Regions from separate parts of the Homo sapiens genome. Here region 1 is linked to region 2. Evidence: promoter capture Hi-C in 16 types of primary human blood cells and fetal thymus (Javierre and others, 2016). All regions are on one chromosome and are shown on one strand. Each heading gives the region's core, a stretch centred on a gene start or on the middle of the fragment in contact. The rest is flanking DNA. Distances are from core to core; before and after follow the strand shown.

Region 1 (5,232 bases), core at 2,733-5,232, 1.7 Mb after region 2:
TTATACATTTATTTGTGTGGGTATCTGTTAAGTGCGAAGTGTTAAGTGCTATAAAGAAAAAGCATAGGGTAGTAGAAGGGAGTTTAAAAGGAACACTTCCCTGAACAGAAATGGGCTATAAACTGAGACCTTAGGGATGGGTAAGTAACCCAGGCCGAATAAGAAGAGTCTCCCAGGAGGAGGACATGTGTGCGTGAAAATTCTGAGGCAAGGAACTGCAAGAAAGCATATGGGTTGCAGCACGGTGAGCTAAGGGAAAGTGGAACACAGTGAAATGGAAGGTTGCTTTGTTGTACTGTCATATTTCTTTTAGTAGGAGGGAAAGAAGCAGACAATTGATATTTAAGTTTTTTACCCCCAATTTTATTTGTTTTTCCGGCCCGGAAAACTGGATACAGTAATTTTTACTCTAAGAAAACTGGGTCTTTCTCTCACTTGGCCAGGCTTCTTCCAGAAGGAGGATGATATTTCTGGCATCATTGACCTTTCAGCCAAACTAGGTGTTTCCAAGCTAATGAATGAAAAAAAGAATCAAAATATTTATCATTTAATCGGGTTGACTCTAGATAGATTTTGTTGTATTGTTTTGATTGCCTTCTCTTCCAGTCTTGTTTTTCCAATCTATGCTTTATTGTTAAAAAAAAATTCCAACACTTAGGAACAACGCAAACACCCACCTAGATACAGTGTCTAAGGGAAACTTGGTAACGTCGTTTAAAATAGAATAGTCTGAACCAGTAGTTCTTAAATTATGCTTATGGAGCACACTATGTTTTTTTATGCCAGATTTAGGTATTCTGTTATTAAAATCAAATAATAGTAGTGGGTTTTTTTTTAGCATTTTAAAACAAAAAAAGTCAGTTAATTAAGATTTCTTAATCTTAACTCTGTTGCAATAATTTTTTTAAATTTTGCTTTAACACTCTTACTGAAATAAATAAGTAGCAAATACAGTGGAAGACTGGAAGATATCCTATTACCCTTAATTTAGCATACTGTGTTTACCCGTTTTGGGGAAAAGAGTTAGAGATTATGCTATGTGTTTGAAGCATATAATATTGTCATTTGCTGGAAAAAAATTTTAGATTGAACAATCGAATTAAATATATCATGTCATGGTAATCTAGAAGTAGCTCCAAGTTCTCGCCATATATGAACATATGTGATAACGAATGGTGTGGAAAGTTTGGTGTTTCTGCATGATCATGATTCTCTTACTTAAAAAGTTAATACCACTAAGTGGTAAAAAGACAGATAAGGCTAACGTCCACAGGGAAGTCTATTATGGAAAAGAGAAGAGCAAGGTGGGTGGATGAATTAAAAATTAAAATACTACCTCATTCTGAGTATTTTTTAAAATTTAAACCACATTATGCACTTATTCTTGACTTACTACTCTGATCCATTTATTAATAACTGAATGAGATAGCCCTGACATCTTTTCTTCTGTAAATACAAAATCAAATGAATCAGACGTTATTCATAAATTAAAAACATGAGACTATAATACCTAGTGCTTATCACAATAAACATGGAACATGTTTCTGAAAATTGGAAGTCAGAATGATTTGATCATTAAGCCCTAATTTCAGATGGAAATAAAACGTTTATTTCTTACCTACTTCACTTTGTGCTTTGAAATTTACCGCTGTGTTAGCAAAGGTGGAAACAGTATTTTGGCTTCACTTAAGCAGCTCAAATATTTATTTTCATAAGTAAACTGTGTTGATATCAGTAAGTACGTCCTAATTTGGAGCCTACAACAAGCAATTTGAAAATGTTCACAATTTTTTTTTTGCTATTTCTAGCCCAACTAAAAGTGTATGAAAAGATTCTAACTGTGCTGACCAACACAGTAGCTTCTAGCCACATGTGTTTATTTAAATGTTAATCTAAATTAATCACAATTAAGAATTCAGTTCGAAGTCACAGTAGTCACATTTCAAGGGCTCAGCAGCCATACAGAAGAACATTTCCACATCACTGTTGTGTACCATCCAAGAATACAACACAACGCAAATGCTTTATCACTTTGTAATTCTTGCTTCAATACAAAAGGTTCAAATTTTGGCTTAAAATATAGAGAGTTAAGTAAATATAGTTTCATATTTTATCTTACAAACAGGTAGGATTATAGTCTTGAACCCCTATGTCATTTTTGGAGATCAAGACAGTAACTGGCCCACTTAACAAAGATGTTAATACTTTGTGCATTCTGTAACCTCTATTTATATAGTTACACATTCTGGTATCCATAGTTCTATTTAGGTAAACATGAAGATGAACATTGGCACATGTGCCAAAAACCTGAAGGAGAGACATTAGGGAATCTAAGATATTGAATGAGGCTTTCCATATAATTCAACAAAATGGATTACAGCTGATATTTCCAGAGATACTACGGAATAGAGTGTTCAAATTTCTGTGAATTATTCTTGTGGTAAGTGTGGTGACCAACCCATCTCAGTTTGCCTGGGTGTTTCCAGGTATGGAAAGTCCCATTTCCCAGGAAACTCCACAGTCCTGGTCAAACTGGAACGGCTAGTCACCCTAGTGGTAAAACATGGTGCTTCCTGTTTCTTACGTACTTTCCAAAATGGTGGCCCATTGTAGGGACTGATTCATTTTTCTATATTAATAGTTATATAACTACTAATATGGACTCAAGGAAACGTGGCCCAATTTGCCTTTTTAGTCATTCTACTTGAACCTTATGCTCTAGCTATACCGAATTTCTTAGTGTTCCCCAAACATGAATTTTCACACCACTGTCTTTGCTCGGGTCATTTTCTGCCTGGAATGCTTTTTCATCCCACTGAACATACACAGAACTTACTTCTCAAGGTCCAATTCAAACACTTCCGTTGACAAGCCTTTTCCAATACTCTTTTTTCAAATTTCCCTACTCTGCAATAGAATGCTCTTGCTTCCTCTGCTGTACTACCGGCATGTTTTACACACTTTTTTTTTTTTAGACGAAGTTTCGCTCTTGTCACCCAGGCTGGAGTGCAACTGCGCGATCTCCGCCTCTCGGGTTCAAGCGATTCTCCTGCCTCAGCCTCCTGAGTAGCTAGGATTACAGGCACGTGCCACCAAACCTGGCTAATTTTTGTATTTTTAGTAAAGACAAGGTTTTGCCATGTTGGCCAGGCTGGTCTTGAACTCCTGACCTCGGGTGATTTGCCCCCTTTGGCCTCCCAAAGTGCTGGGATTACAGGCATGAGCCACTGCGCCCGGCCACATATAGGCTTTCTTTTCTTTTTCTTTTTTTTTTTTTTTTTTTTTTGAGACAGAGTTTCGCTCTTGTTGCCCAGGCTGGAATGCAGTGGCACGATCTCAGCTCACTGAAACCTCTGCCTCCAGGGTTCAAGCAATTCTCCTGCCTCAGCCTCCCGCGTATCTGGTATTACAGGCACGCGCCACCACGCCCAGCTAATTTTTTTGTATTTTTAATAGAGACGGGGTTTCACCATGCTGGCCAGGATGGCACATATATTCTTAATTATAGCAATTGCTCCCTTGTGCTGGTATTCGCCTTACGTGTTTGCTTTCTTTTCTAGACTACCAGATCAAATGGCTTATTTCTAGTTTCAAACTGTCACATAGGAAATGTTTGTTAAAACTAATGTTTTATAAAATTTAAAGCTTATTTTACATATTATCTCATTAGATCTCTCAAGAATTCTGTGAGCTTGGCAATGTAGATTGCTGTATATGCATTAGGCTGATGAACAAACAGGCTTAGAGATAGTCACTTGCCCGAGGTTAGTTAGCTGTTAAGTGTTGGGATTGAATCCCAGGTCTTCTCTCCACCACTTTCTACTAAAAATCACTGAAGGTTGTCAACCGACAGATAGGATTACTCTGTGTGTTGATAACAAAAGGGTGATCAATAATATCTGAAAAGGAAACTTTGTGTAAAAGTCTTTCCCTTACCTTAAAAACTACGCCACACTGGAGCATTCTTTCATTCCCCCAATTTAATTCTATCTGGCGAGAAACAATAATGGGCTAAACCATTATTGTATCGTAAGTCAAATTGCCAAAACTTCACAGGCTACTAAAAGTTAACCCTTATTGAATGAATTAAGAACCTTAGAAGTTCTGCTGTTAAAAAAAGCACGGTGACTGTCAGGGTTTTTCAGGTGTGGGGGGTGTGAGGGTTTTAAGAGTTGGATTCCTTTGACTTTGTCTCTATTATTATAGGCTTAGAGGTCCCGGGTAACTACCAATCGCTATCCAAAGGGAAAGCACCCTGTTAGAAATTAAGTAAGAAAAATAGTTTATATTCCCGGTCTGCCATTTCGATTCTAAGCTTTATCTTTATTTAGCTCACAGTTAAAGGGGGCATAGAGCCACACCCACCTCACAAACGCCGCAAGGATTGGGAGACCAGAAAAGTAAAAGTGACTTGCAAACCTTTAGCTCTAAGTCCATAAAAAAGACTATCATATGCTCACATTTCTAATCTTTGCTAGTATAATGTAATCTTTATTTTGAAAACAATGTGCCTCCATTCCTAGTAAAGCGAAAGTCACGGCGCTGCGACCCTCCCTTCAGCGCCTCCGGACTCTCACGCGATACTCGGCTTTCACGCTTTAGTCTAGGGCTGCACTGCAGGAGGAAGAGAAGCGCCTGTGGTGACGCACTTATTCCGCGCGATGACGTCACTGCAAGGCGCCGGGGGACACGTTGGCTGCGTTTTCGGCGGGCTTCCCGGGTACAAAAATGGCTGTGGCTAGCGATTTCTACCTGCGCTACTACGTAGGGCACAAGGGCAAGTTTGGGCACGAGTTTCTGGAGTTCGAATTTCGGCCGGACGGTGAGAAGAGGCCCACGGCACGCGGTGCTGGGAAAGGGGAGCGAGACCGAGAGGCCGGGTGGTGTGGAGGGTACAGGCGGCGGAGGCCACTGCTTCCCTCGAAGGAAATAGGAGCTTAAGAATAGAGGAGGCATAAGTTGGTTTTATAAATGAAAGAGAATTAATTGCAATAAATTAAAGCTAATCCTGTCACAAACTGAAAAGTTGAACCTACAGTAATCAGAATTCTGTAACAGTGCACCAGAAGGGACTCTAGATCGTCGCCCTGATTGAAAATGCTAGCACTTTTTTGAAAACACCCCCACCAGCGGGTGGTCCAGTGGATGAATAAAATCTTGTGGTGACCAGTACCTTTTTTTCATTTAGGCTGTGTGTTTTCTTTGAAGGGGAGGAGCCCAACGTGTTAACAA
Region 2 (5,163 bases), core at 2,169-4,668:
AGGAGGTCAAGACCACAGTGAGCCATGATCACACCACTGCATGGGTAAGACAGCAAGAGTCTCAAAAAACAAAACAACAACAACAACAAAAACCCTCAGACATTACAGGATTTTATTTTATTTTGAGGCAGAGCCTCGCTCTGTCGCCAGGTTGGAGTACAGTGGTGCAATCTCGGCTCACTGCAACCTCCGCCTCCTGGGTTCAAGTAATTCTCTTGCCTCAGCTTCCTGAGTAGCTAGGACAACAGGCATGCACCACCACATCTGGCTAATTTTTGTATTTTTAGTAGAGATGGGGTTTCACCATATTGGCCAGGCTGGTCTCGAACTCCTGACCTCGTGATCCACCCACCTCGGCCTCCCAAAGTGCTAGAATTACGGGTGTGAGCCATCACGCCCAGCCCATTACAGGATTATATAACATGAATGAACTTCTTTCATAACTAAATATTTTCTTTTTCAGCACACAAAAGTATAGGCAGATTGTTTTTACTTTCTCTTTAATTCTCCTGCTATCTTGAGATATATATATATATCTCCCTATTTCTAAAATGAGAAATAAAGGGTACAAAATTTAACTGTGACTTGCCCAAAGTCAGCAGTGCTAGACAGTTAGGAAAGGAATTAGACATCTACAAGTTATTGGTACACAAGGCCCATCTCTGCGACACTGGAGTTGCAAAGCTGTCTATCCACCCTACCACATCAAGCCAGCTATGTTTAGTAAGTCCAGGAAAAAAACCTGTTCTCAACCCCCGAATGACTGGCCTATTCCCGAGGCTTCAGCCTCCTCACTCTTTTTTTTTTTTTTTTAAGTCAAGGCGGCTGGGCACGGTGGCTCACGCCTGTAATCCCAGCACTTTGGGAGGCCAAGCCAGGTGGATCACTTGAGGTCAGGAGTTCGAGATCAGCCTGGCCAACATGGTGAAACCCTATCTCTACTAAAAATACAAAAATTATCCAGGCGTGGTGGCATGTCCCTGTAATCCCAGCTACTTGGGAGGCTGAGGCAGGAAAATTGCTTGAATCCGGGAGGCGGAGGTTGCAGTGAGCCAAGATCATGCCACAGCACTCCAGCCTAGGTGACAGTGAGACTGTCTCAAAAAAAAAAAAAAAAAAAGAGTCAAGTCTCACTACATCGCCCAGGCTGGATTTAAACTCCTGGGCTCCAGCAATCCTCCCACCTGGGCCTGAGTAGCTAGGACTACAGCCCCCTCACTCTTAAAATTATAGCATTAGTCCAGGGCAAAAATAGCCAGTAAGTCCATTCTAGGCTGAGGCAAAAATCAGAAATTTGGAGGACAAAGAGGGAGATCAATTCAGGTTCCTTGGGAGAAAGTAATCCATTTGGAGGGAAGTGATTCAAATTATAAAGGACTCCCTAGACCAAGAAATCATCCTCTCCCCCAAATATCTTCCAGACTGGGACAAGAATGAATCTTTAAAGTGTTTTATGCTCTAGAAGGTAATATTCCCAGGCTCATTATAGTCATATCTCAAAGGTTAATCCAGGGATGCCATAGAACTGTTCTGCCTCCTAGAAGCTCGTCTCCGGAGGCTTGGCATTCACTCTTCTAGAAAAATCTCTGCTGCTTTTATTTCTTTTCAAGAAATATTTATTTACCTGTTTTGGTAATTTACCTAACATTTTACAAAAGCCATGCCAGAAATCTTTCCTGCTATAAATTGTGATTCCTCCTTCCCCAGATACCAGAGGAAAGGGGACTTCAAAACACTCTAGCTAACCTCTACTACTTTATCTGTAAAATGGGATTACTGCAAAAATTATATGTAAATGTATGTAAAGTACCGGGCACAGGGGAATAGGCAAATTCTAACATCGGAAATGCTCGAATGCTGTTGGTTCATGGGCAAGAAAACAAATTAAAAAGATGCCACACCGCTTCCCCCTAAAATATGTTTCTGCCCTGCCATAGAGGCAAGAATGTCAAAGGTGGCAATTATTATATTTCTTATAACAGATATGACACTCTGGCCCTTCCAAGGAAATAGAAAAACGTAGCAAAGCTAGTAGATGCTGCTCACCATTCAAAGCTGCCCCAATCCAGTCCCCAGAATGTAGGTCTGAACTAGTCTTGAAAGTCACACCTTAAAGTGAAACACCCTTAGATCTATTAGCTTGCCTATTTCTGAATTACAGCTCCTATCAAGAACAGAGAACTTCTAAAATCGGCGACTCTTTTTAGGCCCCAGATTTAACCAATTTGCGTTAGCAACCCCGGAGCTTAACCAAAGCACTCCCAGCTGTCCTAGCGTGTGGGTAACAAAAAAAGCAGCAAATGGTCCTCAATTAAACATCAGCTGCTTTATCTATTTATTGAACACTCACTGTATTGCAAACACAATAATCCTCCCATTCTTGTCTCAAACGCTTAGAGAAGTCTAAAAATCATGGACAGAGAACAACAATGGAAAACACCAGTGCCTGCTGTCTGGCCAACCTCTACAAGATTAGAAAACGGACCAAGACACCTTCTGAGAAGAAAAAGCTGTTTCTGGAGACCTTTGCACTAAAGGGTTCAAAGCAAGTGGACACCTATCACATATCCCTTCAGAAAAGGAACCTCTAACACCCGTTTTTAAGAAACAGACTGTTCTTAGAGGTCCTATAATCCATCCACTGTGTGAGCCAAATCTCACTACATCAGCCATGAGCACTAGAGCCAAAAATTAATTAGCTCGTCTTTTAAACAGGAGGCTGTAGCTGGGAGAAACGGCTGTTTTGAAAATAAATAAGGGCACTGGCGCCCACGCTGGCTTAGCTTGCAGTCACACGCACTTCCATCAGGGGAATCGAGGCCAGGACAGATGGTGACTTTTTTTTTTTCCTACTAGCACGGTGAAGGCTTTTTCTGTGCGTTCCCGTCCGCAGTCCCTGACCCTAGTCTGGGAGGCAGCCCGCTCTGCAAGGGGACAGGGCGGGCTGGAGGAGGGTGGGAGGTTAGGACACCGACCTGAGGAGTTCAGATCGTTGGGTCGGCTCTCGGCCTCGGAGCTCTGCTCACTGCCCATGGTGCCGACAGCGGTGGCAGCAGAAGAACGGCGGGCCGGGCGGTCACCGCTCCGGCGGCGGGCGACAGGGCAGGGGCCAGGGACCGGGACGGGGAGGCAAAGCAGAGTCTGGGCGCCGCAGCGAGGCTAATGTGTGGGGCTGACGCGTCCAGCCCACGCAGGGGCCTGGGCGGCGGGAGAAGGAGAGGCCCTATTTGGGGAACAGAAACGCAAGGAGGCGCGGCGCGAACGCACGCGGCTAGCCCTCCTTCTTTCCGGGAGCCCTAAGAGAACCGGCAGATGACACTGGCTTTGCCGCACCTGCGGCCGGCGGGCGGCGCCGCTTTCACTCACTGGTTCACGCTCCGCAAGCTCGCTCCTTCCGGGACGCAGATGGGCGGTGCCGGCTACGCAAGACCTTCAGTTCCGGATTAGGAGGCCCCGCCCCCCGGCCCGAGGGAGGGGCGGAGAGACCCGCTCCTGCGACTTAGGGCGATGCCACCTTAAAGGGCTTGACCTCCTCGAAGCCAGAACTGCGGAAGAGGGTAAGCCCTTTCCTGTTGTAAGGATGCGTCACCTTTAAAACACCACCCACACTATTAAGCTCTTCAATACCCACATGTGAGAACAACTTTACAAAATAGGTATTTTTAACCCTGTTTTACAGATGGAGAAAGAAACGCTAGATAGACCCAGGATTCGAACCCACAACAGCTTGGATGCAAAGCTCATTTTGAATTCTGAAGAGCTGGGAGTTTAGCAGTGGACGACCAAACAAAAAAATACCAGAAGACGGTGAAAGCAGCAGCTGGAAATGAGAGAAAAATTAAGAAATAGAAAATGCTGTTTCATGTATTAGGGAGTGCACATCTTTAAAGAGAAGTGAAGAACCTTTTTGGCTAGGCGCTTTCTGGGGACCTTGGCAGTTATCAACAAGTCACTCTGAAACTAACAGAAGGTGAGGAGGGAGTAATCCAGAAAGGAAACTGCCATTTTTGCTAGGGCAAGAAAGTAGACCTAGCAATGCAATGCCATCAAGGAGTTAGCTGGCTCTAGCGTTCTCCGAACTTTGCAACTCATTTTATATTACATTGTCTGCGTCAAGAAATTTCAAGTAAATGCCTTGAGATTTTATATGTATAAAATGTAGTCTCTGGCCAGGCGGGGTGGCTCACGCCTGTAATCCCAGCACTTTGGGAGGCTGAGGCGAGTAGATCACGATGTCAGGAGATCAAGACCATCCTGGCTAACATGGTGAAACCCCGTCTCTACTAAAAAATACAAAAAATTAGCCGGGCATGATGGTGGGCGCCTGTAGTCCCAGCTACTCGGGAGGCTGAGACAGGAGAATGGTGTGAACCCGGGAGGCAGAGCTTGCAGTGAGCCGAGATCGCGCCACTGCACTCCAGCCTGGGCGACAGAGCGAGACTCCGTCTCAAAAAAAAAAAAAAAAAAAAAAGTCTCAGAAGAAGTGTCAAGTTGACTAAATGATTTTTAAGTCCCTTCCACTCTACTATATCACAATAATTTCCCCTATTTTACCTTATTTAATTTTCACAACAACCCTGCAGCCTGTAAGTAGGTGACTCCTCCATGGTCAGCAGGTGGTCAGTGGTCGAACTATTTAGGACTATCTGATGCTCTTTCCTCTGCTCACCATTGCAATACAATGAGAAAAATGCAAATGAATCTAAGTACAGTGTTCTCTGGGAATATGAAGATAGAACTAAAAACTGCCTGAGAGATCAGGGCAGGCTTCTAGAAAGTTGTGTCTAACTAGTCTTGAGGTTTACATAAACCACACCAGGCTGATGGGACTGGGAAGGGCCCACTAAGCAGTGAGACCATTCCCTTTTGGAGAGTCCTTGCATCCCCTCCCAGATTTCCTCTTTGAGGGGAAGGTGAGAGAGGAGGTAAAAGGGGTGAGGAATGGAGAATAACTCATTCTGGTTCTTGTTTCCCCTTTTCCACATAAAAGTATATTTGTCTTGTGTTCCATACACCAGTCCATACTGATGTGATGGTGTTTTTTATGCTTCCTTTTGAATAAACATTTCATTCTTAAAAGGATAGTCTGTCGCATCAACTGATGAATGGATAAATAAAGTGTGGTAATCATGGAATATTTATTCAGCCAAAATGAGGGAAGGA

Evidence for each region. The method cuts DNA at HindIII sites, captures the fragments that hold promoters and counts their contacts. A CHiCAGO score of 5 or more calls a contact.
Region 1: a contact is called between a fragment that was not itself captured here and the fragment with the promoter of LOH12CR2 in region 2, in 1 of 17 cell types (total B cells). The highest score is 5.6, in total B cells.

What each region holds. Positions count from the first base shown.
Region 1 is chr12:10,613,029-10,618,260 of GRCh38, reverse strand. It overlaps MAGOHB (mago homolog B, exon junction complex subunit), which reads left to right and starts at 4,652. Exons shown (of 5, transcript NM_018048.5): 1 at 4,652-4,822. The coding sequence starts at 4,729. RefSeq lists enhancers at 3,838-4,715, 4,532-4,931, 4,716-5,232. The HindIII fragment of the contact is 670 bases long and covers 3,648-4,317 here.
Region 2 is chr12:12,355,322-12,360,484 of GRCh38, reverse strand. It overlaps LOH12CR2 (loss of heterozygosity on chromosome 12, region 2), which reads left to right and starts at 3,418. Exons shown (of 2, transcript NR_024061.1): 1 at 3,418-3,557; 2 at 3,680-5,077. BORCS5 (BLOC-1 related complex subunit 5) reads right to left here and starts at 3,407. Exons shown (of 4, transcript NM_058169.6): 1 at 2,976-3,407. The coding sequence starts at 3,033. RefSeq lists enhancers at 1,978-2,057, 2,944-3,622 and a silencer at 2,998-3,077. The HindIII fragment of the contact is 7,691 bases long and covers 1-5,163 here.